2 separate regions of the Homo sapiens genome follow, and region 2 is linked to region 1. Evidence: promoter capture Hi-C in 16 types of primary human blood cells and fetal thymus (Javierre and others, 2016). All regions are on one chromosome and are shown on one strand. Each heading gives the region's core, a stretch centred on a gene start or on the middle of the fragment in contact. The rest is flanking DNA. Distances are from core to core; before and after follow the strand shown.

Evidence for each region. Contacts are between HindIII fragments. The CHiCAGO score rates a contact against its expected background, and 5 or more counts as called.
Region 2: the fragment with the promoter of DNAJC3 here is called in contact with the fragment with the promoter of GPC5 in region 1 in 1 of 17 cell types (non-activated CD4 T cells); the score reaches 5.1 in non-activated CD4 T cells.

Annotation. Positions count from the first base shown.
Region 1 is chr13:91,395,214-91,401,658 of GRCh38, reverse strand. GPC5 (glypican 5) reads right to left here and starts at 3,038. Exons shown (of 8, transcript NM_004466.6): 1 at 2,450-3,038. The coding sequence starts at 2,612. LOC124903189 (a long non-coding RNA gene) reads right to left here and starts at 4,782. Exons shown (of 2, transcript XR_007063831.1): 1 at 4,498-4,782; 2 at 4,071-4,313. RefSeq lists silencers at 2,954-3,223, 2,930-3,224. The HindIII fragment of the contact is 9,875 bases long and covers 1-5,297 here.
Region 2 is chr13:95,673,539-95,679,905 of GRCh38, reverse strand. DNAJC3 (DnaJ heat shock protein family (Hsp40) member C3) reads right to left here and starts at 2,767. Exons shown (of 12, transcript NM_006260.5): 1 at 2,569-2,767. The coding sequence starts at 2,650. DNAJC3-DT (DNAJC3 divergent transcript) reads left to right here and starts at 2,981. Exons shown (of 2, transcript NR_132117.1): 1 at 2,981-4,054; 2 at 5,238-6,367. RefSeq lists silencers at 2,387-2,476, 2,707-2,946 and enhancers at 2,587-2,636, 1,983-2,829, 3,467-3,566, 2,830-3,677. The HindIII fragment of the contact is 3,320 bases long and covers 1,300-4,619 here.

The DNA.
Region 1 (6,445 bases), core at 1,789-4,288:
TGTGTTTTGGCTAGACATCTCAGGGATTAACCACTGTGAACAAGAAATGCAAGAAAGCAGTAAAAATACGTACTTCCAAAAACAAAATCAAATTAAATGTGTTTGTTTTAGTCAGTGAAAGGGTATGTGCTAAATGAATAGATTTGTTAAAAGATATTACTATTTGTATTCTCATGGAGAAATGACTAAATTATGTTCTCTCTTGAGATTGAGGATAATCTTAGAAAATATGATAGTCAATTACCATATTCAATCATGTTAAATGTTGTAGATCATATATAAATACAAAAAGAAAGAAAATTATTTATTAAGCATGTGGTATGTTTGGTTTACTCAATTTGGGATTGAGGGGTTTTTTTTTTTAGAGAGATGAGAGGAATCAGTGTTTAAAAAAGTTTAATATTTTGCTGAATTATTTGTAAAAGAATGACCAACAATACAGACACAAAACTTCAGAATTATATCAAATTCCTATATGAATGCCTTTTTTGGGGGGTGGATCTAAATCAGCATAGCACTTTTGTGTGACTTTTTCTTAGTGAAAATATTAAAGGAACTTAGCATTTCTTTTCACCAGTACCACTGATGTCTCTAAGCCTCTTCTGTGAGTGCTCCCGTGATTCCTCCATCACCTTCAGCCACAGATTTAAAAAATCTACTAGCAATGGGGAAACAATCCAGAGTGACTTAGAAAAGAAAGATTCCTTGTCGTCATGGAACTTTTTTGTGTGTCATGTGTATCAAATGCAAATAATTACAGTCATTTCCCTCTCCTTAGGACAGAGCTTTAGTTTTCCCTGACATCCTGGTAAGACACTGTCTCAGTGACTGATACTCTGGAAAGTTCATCTTTAAAAGAGATGAACACCCAATCAATGTGTTGCATTCAGCAGATACCAGAAATACTGAGATACCAGAGTGGAGTGAAATCAGGGCCTTACTGGGGAGAAGGGGCTGGCCATCAACATTCGGTGAACATAGCAGGCAAAGTTACCATATTTGGGGACTAAAAATCTAATAATTCAGGTAAAGATCTCACATCATAACACCCTCACCACCCACACGCACAAACTCACTTTAGTTTTATCAGCAGCCAATAAAGTGAGATTTATTTCCTAATGAAAAGAATGCACTAAGAAAAATACAGATCTATAAGGCGATATTTTATTTGGGGATAGAAGAATCGCCCTAAACTGAGAATGTCAACTTTGTTTCAAGTAATACAGAAAAAGCACCTAGTACCAAACAGGTATACAAAGAAATAGCTGGGTTTAAGACTGGTCATGTAAACTCAAATGGAGTCAGTGTTCCCGAATGCCTAGATTTTCTTTCTGGGATGACTTAAAATTGAGCAAAGCAATCAAGAAAAGCGGCTACAGCTCACACTTCCTCATTGCTACAAGCAAGTCCCCCAACCCTGGAAACTCGGGACTTTAGACTTAAGCGTCCTCCACAAGTTCTTTGTTCAACCAGTAACCTCACAGATTCGTCTGTGTTGGCTTCATAGTCACAGCTAAAGGGGTGCATGGCTCTAGTGAGATCTTACTTAGCTCTAGACACCTGCTATTGCGTTTGACAGCTATGACCTATTCTTCCAGACAGAACCTACACTGGAACTCCCACCAGCAGAAGGAAATTGGTGCGGTGGAAACGGGGAGCAGGGTTCGAAAGCACAGGCAAAAGGCGCTCACAGGAAGCAAGATCCACGCTGGCCACACAAACTGTATCTTTCCCTTTGGAACGCTGGTACATCTCATCCATGTCAAGTGACTCCCCAGTACGTTCGGTTTGATCGCCTGTTGCCCTAACACTTTTCAGGCTAAAAACTACCTTGGTGCTGGGAGACACACTGGGTGGTTGGGTTTCCTCCAAGCAGGGCTTGATACGAGGGCACAGAAGGGCAGCTAAGGGTCACGTCTCTGGGTGCACAGGGTCCAAGTCCTAATTACAGAGGAGACCGGCTGCCCTTGTCTGTGCCCCATTCTCCAGCAAAGGGGTATATCGCAGGTTTGTGATTTTTAGTACCAAACTTGGGGCGATCAATTCAATTCCCTCCACCTTATGAGAAAGCAGTAAACCGAAATCCCCGGTGGGGCACTGGGGAAATTCCTACTCGGAAGAGAAACGGAGTTAGACTGCGTGTCCCCCACGCCCTGATGTCTGCTTTCCTGGTTCCTTCCAACTCATCCTCCAAGACGAAGGGAGCCGGGCGGGAAGCAGATGCCCAGAACGGGGATTCGTCGCAGGCTTGGTTAGGGGTCCCCAGAGCTGCGCTGCGCTGCACTCAGGCTACCCGCACCAAGCATCCCCGGAAGCCTCCCCGGGATTCACCCTGCGCGGCTGCAGGGCCCGAAAGGTCATCTTCCCACGAGTGCCACCAAGGGAGCCTGGGGGAGCGAAGGCCGGGCTCGGACGCCGCCAGTCCAGAGACCCCCTCATTGCCCCTTACCTGCCCGCGGCGAATCCGGCAGCCCCCTGACAGCTCCCAGCAGCCGCCACTGGAAAAGTTTCCGAACTTCTTCGCAGGTCTGCACGCCCTCGCTGCGGGCGGACCCAACCAGGGCCAGAAGGAGGAGGCAGCGAAAGCCCACGGGCCAGGTCTGTGCGTCCATCCTCGCCGTCCTGGTCCCCTTTACCCGCCAGTGGACCCCACTCGCCCTGCGCGCCCTGGCTGAGCTGCAGACGTGGAAGACACAGCGGCCGAGGCTCTCGAGCGGTGCGAGCCGGCTGCGGGGTGTACGGACCGCCCGCGGGCACCGGCTTCACCTGGGAGCAGTTAGCTCTTCCCGGAGGAGGCCCTAAGCTGAGACACCAGAGTTTTCCAGCTGAGCACCCTCTGGTCTTCTTCCCTAGCCGAGAAGAGTGGGCGGCTGGGCGGGGCGAAGAAAACTAGTGGAGCCGCAGGGAGCCCGCAAGCATCCGCTCTGGCCACCACTGCTGCAACTGCTGCCGCTGCCGCCACTGCCGCCACTGCCGCCACTGCCGCCGCCGCCGCCGCCTCCGCCGCCCGGCTCGGCTCGCAGCAGCTAACCTGGGATGTGCCCGCTCGCTGCGCTCCGCGGAAGCCCCGCCCCGCACTCCCCGCCCCGCGGACAGGCCACGCCCCTGCCACGCCCCCGGCGCGCTGTCCCGCTCCGCACCCACTAAGATGCTGTCATACGCGGCCCAGTGCTGAAGACTCGGAGCGACATCGATGCAAATAAATAGAAGGAAACCCGGACCTCGCTCTCCCAGTCCGTTCTGGGGAAGAATCATCTGATAAAAACAGAGAATGTATAAATAGGGTCAGAGAAGACAAGAGATGAGAAACACCAACTGGAACTAAGAAATATCTCATCTATGTAATCAAGGTCCTCAGTACATAGGAATTTGTATTCTAATTGCATTAAATAGGATCTGGACATAATACAAAAGGCAAAAACTATTTACGGTTAAAGATCTCAATTGAGAGACTTCATAACACTTAGGTTGTTAAAGAGTGCACATGAGAAGTTATTTTTTAAAATGGCTTTGTTTTACTGCTTAGGAACATTTTTCTATAACATGATTTTCTGAAAGGAGGTATAAGAATTACAATCAAACTTTATCACATTCTTATCACAATGAAATCTAGTTTTAAGTCTCTTATCACCATTTAGCATCATATTTTACTTCAGCACTTTGTATTTGTGGGGCTCCTCTGAGCTTTACCACTTCTGGAATTTCTTTAAAATATTTTTCAGAGAGCAATTAAGTTAAGAGTGCTCAGGGGAGTTCCTTACAAGGAATATAGAAAAATAAATACTTTAAGCAATTTTAAAATGGCAAAGGAATTTTGTCAATTTACAGTTTATGAGAGGAATGCATTACGCACCATAAACCAAAGGGCAGGTGCATTTTTTAAATGTGGTTGACTCAACAACTAAGCCTGTAAGAGTGTCTCAATCTACAGCCACTTGAAGAGAGTACTCCTTCTGTAAAATAAACTAGTTAAAAGCATCAGGCAGAGGGGACAATGAATGCTTTAACCACTTTAAGGAATTTCATCTCAAATTTGAACCCTTACCAAGAGATAGTAGTGAAAAACTTTATGTCTTAGTGAAGATTTTTAATGAACATTTAATATCAAAGGCAGCACTTTCAGCAGTATATCACTTGCTTTAAAACCATTCCAGGGCAATGGCTGAAACACTGCTTCAGAGTGAAATCATGCTACTTGGTGTTTGGCATCAGTTTTCTGAATATGAGATTTTGTTTCAAAGGGCAGTGCTCTTCATGAATCTCTTCTGCTCTAACCACCAAGTATGGAAAGATTGTCTGGAAGCCACCTATATCTATGAAAAGAAACAAGAAAAACCATGAGAATGTATATAGTGCTTATGGGCCAGATAATATTCTAAGTATTTTATGGAAATGAATTCACTCATGTAATCTTTATAACAACCTTATAAAGTAGTTACTACTATTATCATTGTTTTACAGATGAGGAAACAGGAACACAGAGGTGAAGTGACTTACTGAATGCCTAAGGTAAGTGACAAAGCCAGAAATCAAACTGAGGCTTCCAAATCCAGACCGCATGCTCTTCTCCAGAGGCTCTCCTTGACTATTCTGTGGTACAGAAAAACCCATCAGGTTTCACCAAAGGCCTTTGGGCAGCAACACCAAGGGCTGTTTATTCATTTAGCAGATTTTTTACTAGTAAATATGCATAATTTCTATCTATATAACTGTATTCTACTGGAATTATGTGTATCTCTATATAAGGCTAATAAATTCCCAAGTTTTTCTAAAACATCTTTATTGTTACCAAGATCTCTCCTTGATAGATTTGATCATCTTAGACTCTTAGCATCAAAAAGATCCTTAAATTACCATCTATCCCATTAACTGGAATCTCTAAAACGGTGTGTCTTGCAAGGATAAAAATCATAAACACAACTGAGTATTGATGGTTCAGTAAAAGCTAATTGACTAATACATATTGGTTGAAAACATACAATTTTTTTAACCGCTATTCTAGGCTTAACAGGAGTTTAAAGAGACACACAAGCAAGTTTTCTCAGTGATTTTATAAGTTAACAAAACAGGTGGGAGGTCATTTATAGAAATGCCATAGGAACTAACAAGAATATATTTAGTCTGTATAAAATATCCCCATTAACAAAAAATAAATATATTTTCCTTCTACCTCTTATCCATAACTGCTAGCAAAGTGGATGAGCCAGCATGTGGCCTGGAAGGGCATCTTGTCCTATTAGCATCCCTAAGCCCACCACGCAAGGCAACAGTATGCCTGCTACTGAAGCTACCAAGCTTCAAGACAAGTTTTCTAGTTCCACCCAGAACACAATGCCACGATCCCTTTTATAAGAACATTCTAGAGCAACCTCTGCAAATTATACCATAACTAGCCTTTTATTCAATTTACTGGTAAACATTACAAATGAAGCTAGGGAAAACTGTCCATAATTTGATAGTTATAATGCCTTATTTTACAAAATGTATTTAAAAAATGTATTGAATGTCTTTTATATAATAGGCATTGCGCTTTGCTTTCAAAATACCAATACCCTTGGATAGGAGAATCCTTAAATGGTCATTATTTAAAATACAGCTTAGTAATATTCTAAATCCAAAACTTCCCTGATACTTTCTATGTAACTGTTTATATGTTTATAGTTTGTCAACTTAGGACCTTGTAAAGAGAAATAAAAAACCTCGGCCGGGTGCGGTGGTTCACGCCTGTAATCCCAGCACTTTGGGAGGCTGAGGCGGGTGGATCACGAGGTCAGGAGATCGAGAGCATCTGGCCAACATGGTGAAACTCCATCTCTACTAAAAATATGAAAATTAGGTGGGTGTGGTGGCCCATGCCTGTAATCCCAGCTACTCAAGAGGCTGAGGCAGGAGAATCGCTTGAACCCAGGAGGCAGAGATTGCAGTGAGCCCAGATCGTGCCACAGGACTCCAGCCTGGGGGACAGAGTGAGACTCCATCTCACAAAAAAAAAGAAAGAAAGAAAACCTCCAGTGTGGTTTAGGTGATTTAATGATATCACAGAGTCTTCAACCCTGACTATTCTTTTAGGCTAAGACTGGCCACTAATTAGTTTACCCTCAGAAGCTGATTTGGGTAACTTTTATACCCAGTCAATGACAAGAGCTAAGATTTATTAAGCACTTACAGATATTATCTCATTTAACATTTCAACCATTCCATGAGACAGTTACTATTATACTACTGAGAAAACTGAAGTACAAAGAGATTAAATAACCTTCCAGAAATCCTGATAAGAGCCCAAATGCAAGCCAGGCTTCATAACTTTTGTACCCCTTTAGTCACTACACTCGCCTGCCTGAAAAGCCAGACACCTGGTTTGTGGCCCCTTGAACTCAACCTATCATATAAATATAAACTCTGGTACTCACAGCTATCCATGTGGACAACCTGCTGAACACCTTGG
Region 2 (6,367 bases), core at 1,518-4,017, 4.3 Mb before region 1:
TTATCTCTTCCCCATCCTGTGCCACTCTTAGTTCCACATTCACTTCTCTCATAACCATTCTCCTTCATTTCTTTTTTTAAAAGTGAATTGTATTGTATATATTTGATGTTTACAACATAGTATTATGAGATATACACACATAAAATGGTTACAATAGTGAAGCAGATTAATAAGAGTGAAGCAGATTAATATATCTATCATCTCACATAATTACTTTTTGTGTGACAAGAGCAGCTAAAACCTACCTATTTAACAAAAATCCTTAATACAACACAATTTTATTAAGCCTCAGGCCTAGCAGTAGCACCATTTGCCTTTCAGAGAACTATGAGATTAGTGAATCCAGACACAATTTATTTGGGAAAACAGGGGCTAACGGTTTGCTAATTCAAGTCAGAGTTCTTACCTTTATATCCCTATCACCAAATCCAGTGTCAAATACATAGCAGACACCTAATTTAACTCCTCTATATAATTTATTACACCAGTGGTTCTCAAGTGTGGTCATCCAGGGTCTTTCTAGAAACGCAAAATTTCAGGTCCCATCAAGACCTAATGAATCAAACTCTGTAAGTGGGGTACAGCACTCTGTTTTAAAAAGCCCTCCATGTGCGATTCTGATGCACACTCAAGTTTGAGAACCACTGTATTAAACCTCCCAGGAAATAACCTTCTTGTTAATTACAAAAAAAAAAAAAAAAAAAAAGTGCTGATTTTTTTTCTCAGCTGCCATCACTTAAAAGTGCTTGGACTCACATGATGTTGTCAACTACTTAACTTCTGTCTCCAGCGTGCACACAAAATGAACTTTAGTAAAACCTTTGGAGCCTCAGTTCCCTGGTCTGTAAAGTAGGAATGAATACCACACGCTTTCGTGAATAAGATATGGCTTACAGAAAGGCTCCTTTCTTTCCTTTTTCTGTTACCTGTACTAAGTCCCTGCTATTTTACACAGACAATGGTCCTAAAGAAGACACTCTGGCACTCCTCTGAGAAATGTCACCAGTGCCTCCTACACAGAAAAGCTCTCAAATGTGGTTTTCTTATGGAAAATACCACAGGAGGGAAATGAAGAGTTAAGAGTCCTTACAGACTCATATACAGAACAGCAATTCTAAAAAGTAGTGGGAAAAGCAATCATTCAAAATTGTGCATCTCTGTAACTTAAAAAAAAAAATCACCATTAAACAGAACATAGGCAACTTTCTCTTAAGTGTCCAAAATAAATTATTAATGATAACTGGAGATAAATACTACAGATGAGGGATGGTGGGGTGCGGGGGCAGGAGGAATGAAGCTTTTGAAAATGCAAAAGAACTAGAATATATGACCCATATTAAAGTGGTACAGACCTTCAAATTCCAATCCCCTAGATTTTTCTGGGGGCAGCCTCACTGTCAAATTCTTTGTCCCAATGTTGCCACACTACGTGTTCTGATTTGGGGTTCAAAAAATATGGTTACCAGGGGAAGCAAAAGCAAAAGCCCATTGCTATGGGTGACACCTAAAAACTGGGGAGTACTACTTTAAAAAAAAAAGTTGAGAACTTTCAGAAGAATTCACTATAAACAATTCCCAATTTTTAGTTCCTCGCTCCCTTTGAATGGAATACTCAAAGGTTTAATTTGACCTCCTTGACAACTAGCCCTTTTTATGGGGATGAAAATAGATCAGTGCATGTGATGTGTCATTACACTCGAATATTTCGCACAGTAACCGCGCCAGAAGCATTCGTTAAATCGGCACTATCAACTTTAATTCTTACTCCTCCCCGCTGCCATCTAAGATAGGACAGCCCTCTATTTTCGCTATTCTGGAGTAGCCAACATTCCAGTCTGCAGGACTGAAGTGAAATTTAATCGTTCGTATCTTTTTAAGGGAACCTTTTTACAGCGAACTTGGAAAAGTAATGCCAGCCATACGTTGAATGACACCATGTTGGGAGTTGTAAAACCACAAACTCAGTGCCTGGCCGTCCGGGAGATGGAATTCCAACAGCGGCTCCTCATTGCACCAAACTAACAATTTCTCTACACGACAGTGCATCTTAATGGGGATGGTTACACACTTTTTAAATAGTCAACACTGTCCCCTCCAACTCCCAGCCGGACATGACACTCCTTCCCCACCCAAGAACTCCAGAGCGAAGGAAGTCTTTTGGCCACCTTAGTGCCTCCTCCCAGCCAGCACCAATGACTGACAGTGTCCCCAGGCGCCCAGCGAGGGTCCCAAGCGAGGCCAGGACCCAAAGGCTGCCCAAGTCTCCGCGTCCCAGGACTTCCTGAAGTCGTAGCCCGGTGCCCCCGCACCCCGCCTCCTCCGACTCCTGCGGCCCGGTTCCTTAGTCCAAACCCGCTGTCCCGGCCCCGCGGCCCGCCAGTCCCCTCGATTCTTCCCCAGACAAACCCGGAACCGGGCGCGGGCTCAGGCCCAAGCCAGGCCGCGGGCTCCCCCAGCGCTCGCCCCACCTCCCGAGCCGCTCCGGGACAGGCGCCCGGGCGCAGACGGGAAAGCGCGGGGGGCCTGGTCCGGGAGCCCACTTCCTGGCCGGGGCAGGGCAGGACTCACCTTCGTACTGCAGATCCACCAGGACTAGCAGGAAGGGGAATACCGAGCCCAGCCGGCTGGTCACGGAGCCGGGGGCCACCATGTCCGAGGGCTCGCGAGTGAAGAGGAGGAAAGGTGTGTGGCCCACCAGCACGCGCCGGCGCTCCGGCAGCAGCTGCGCCCGCCCGCCGTCGGCTCTCGCTCAGGCCTCAGTGGCTCTGGAGCCCAGCAGAGGAAGGCAGCGGTGGGCGGGGCCCGGGCGACGCTACGCCCCAGAGCGCCGCCGCCATCCAATCGCCTTCTTTCTGGCGGCTTTCCTCCCGGGCTCGCCGGGGTCGTGGTTCGCGCTGATAGGCTGCGGAGGCCGCCGCCCCGCCCCGTCCCTGATAGGATAACGTGGAAGCACGAGACGAGGCTGCGCCCGCCGGTCGCAGAGCTGTCAGCAAGCTCCAAACCGCGGCTGCCGCCCGGAGGGAAGCAGACGGGGAGTCGGTGGCGGCCGCCGAGTCCGCATGCGCAGGCTGCAAAGGCCCTTTTGGGCCGGTCCCGCCGCGCTAGGTTGGCGAGTGGGACTATTTGATCCTTTCCAGGTTCGCCAGCGTGGTGTTACGAGAGGAAAGCGCAGCCGCAGCGTACGAATGGGAAGGCCAAACACGGTCCCGGGGAGTCTGAGGGAAGCTGCAGGGCGCCTGGAATTGGGGTCTCGAGTGAGCCGGTAAAAACCGCCTCCCGCTGAGCGTCCCGGAACAAATACTGTCTGAACTGAGCCGTAAGCAAGAAACGGTCAGGAGAAGCTGGGGCGATCTGATGATTAGAACATTTCAGGGACTACCAGAGAGAAGTGCGTAATTGCTCTAAGGCAGGTAGGTAATTGGCCTGGAAACTTGGGAACGCCCCGCCCCCCACCCCGACTTTCAGCAAACCACCGTGCCCAGGAAAAAGAGCGATTGTGGAAGACCCTGTGAAGAAGAGACCAGGAAGGCACTGTGGCTTAAGAGAGCAAGGCGTTCCTGAATGCAGCCAACATCAACTGGTAAACAAAAAACTGTGAGAACGGATCCTGAATCTTGCGCTTACCAGGGGAAATTCAGGAGAGATATGAACCTGAGCAAGATGAGGTTGAAGTTACTCAATGCGGCATTAAGCCTGTTCACGGCCACTTCCTCCGGCGTCACCAACACACACACTGTACACCAGCAGTATTTTTACACGGGGTATGTGTGTTAAGTACTATCAGGTGGATAATTATTACTTCACCTGTATTTGCTGCCTTGATACCATTAGAGAAACTCATGAATTATAAATAGCATAGTGAATTTGTGATTCCCTGAAGATATACTAAGGTGGACTTTTAAAAAGGCTTCTATTCCAAAGGGAACTAATATGGAGGAAATGGTTTCGAGAAAGAAAAAAGAAAAAACGGAGTCCTTGATTAGTTGTGGGGAAGGCAACATAATGTAATGTGAAGAATAAAGGAGTCAGATCCAGGAAACCCCATAACTATTATGTAAGTTATCTTCATCTGTAAAGTGGTTAGGATCCTGATAGTCTCAAAGGTTTGTTTTGAGGTTTCATGAAGCAGATAAATATTCTTGTAAATTGTAGAATGTTATACCAGTGTTACTCATTATTCTAACAAGAGCAGAGTAGTGAAGAGAGGCTCCTTCAGAAATTCCTTGGGATTTTTTTTTTTTTGGCTTCTGTTTTTTTATATCACAAGGTAGTGTCTCTGAAAAATGGTAGATGATTTCAATGTCCACAAATATGCAGGTGTAGACATTCAATTGAGGTACTGTACCCAAGGCAGCCAGCAAAATGCTGAACATAGAAAATAACTTTGTAAACAAAATGCAATATTTCTAGACAGTGAGTTATCACCAGTGTGCTGCCTATGACCCTGGCCTTAAGGAAAAAGTAGCAGAGCTGAAGAAGTTCTAAGGATGGAAATTAAAAATTATTAAGGAGATAATAGACTTCGTGTTATAGGAAATAAAAATAGCAAGGGTCTTCAATGGTGAGTGATTTTGAGATTAATTACATAACTATGAATTCTGTAATATTAGAACTAAGCTTTACAAAGCATTCCTTAAAAAAAGATAATTTTACAACAAAGGTAACATTAGACAGAAAAAAATGTACAAAACTAAAATTAAGTGATTAATGCTTGGGAATGTTTCCTCCAATGTTCATCTAGTCATGGTTTTCACGAATCACTCTTGCCAATAAAACCGAAAATCAAAGTAATCTAGTGAGTGTAAGAAAAGTTACTGTAAATATGTTTGCATTCGTCAGACTCTATGGAGTCTTTTTGAAGTTAAACATTAAATCTCCACTGTAATTCATACTGTTAATTATAGTAGCAAAAGACTTAAAAAACAATGGTAGCATATTTATGATATATCCAAAATTAAGAGTATTATGCAATTTTTATTAGGTTGATCTATGTTTATTGACTAGGAAAAACAATGTTGGTAGAGAGGAGTGAACAGATCTAGAACATATTTTGTAGGTAAAGGGAATAAGATTTGTTTAGGAATTAACTATGAGGAGAAATAAATGTTCAGAAACAAGTAGAGCACTTATAAACACCTTTTTGTGCCAAATTAAGAACAAAAAAGTCAGCATTAAGTTAATGCCACCATATACATCCTTCCACATTTATGTTTACAAACTTGTGCTTTTATTTCTAGGAAACATTTCTAGGCTGGGCGCAGTGGCTCACACCTGTAATGCTAGCGCTTTGGGAAGCCAAGATGGGAGGATTATTTGAGGCCGGGAGTTTGCGACCAGCCTGAGCAACATAGCAGGATCCTGTCTCTGCAAAAAAATTTAAAACTAGCCAGGTGCGGTGGCTCGTGCCTGTTGCCCTAGCTACTCAGGGAGACTGAGGCAGAGGATTGCTTCAACCCAGGAGTTTGAGGTTGCAGTGAGCTAAGATCATGTCACTGCACTCCAGACTGAGCAACAGAGTGACACTTTATAAAAAAAAAAAAAAAAAAAACTAGGTTTTTGAACTTGCTTAATCAAAGAATTTGTTTAAACTTTTAAGATGCGTTGTCAGATTATCTTTCCCTAAAGGAATAATTTCTATTCCTATCAGCTGTTTATATTCCTGCCTAGTCACCATCACTAGATATAATTGATTTTCAGTTTTTGCCAATCTGAGGAACAAAAAATGACCCTTATATGTCAAATTTACAGTTTATTTTCAAGGATTTTGGGATTCTGATCAAATTTTGGTACCTTCATATAAAATTTGGCTTTTATATCACATCTTGTCTTCTCTGCTTTCCACCCTCTTTTATGTTGTTTTTTGGCTTCTGGCCGCATGACTATAATCTCCGCTTTTGTATTCACATCACCTTCTGTCATTTTTGACCTTGCCTCCGTCTTACAAGGATCCTTGTAATTAATTATATTGGGCCTGCTGAGATAATCCAGGATATTCTTCCTACTCAAGTTCCTCAATTTAATCACATCTGCAAAAACTGCCTTTTGCTATAGAACAATGACAGGAGATTAGAATGTAAACATATTTGGGGGACCGTTATTCAGCTTAACACAATACGTCCCCCTTCATCAGGTGGAGCTTATTTTCCCTCCTTCCTTGAGTGTGGGCTGGACTTAGTGACTAACTTCCAAAGAACAGAGTATGGAAAGGGAGGAGGAGAGTAACTTCATAGTACAGAAACCTGGAAACACTGTCTTGGCCAGGTGGTCAAAGTTAATATCATCAAGTCATGTTGATAGCATATACTCCCAATATACTGTGATGAGAAGGGCAATTCACCTCTGTGGTATTCTCAAAACCTATAACCCA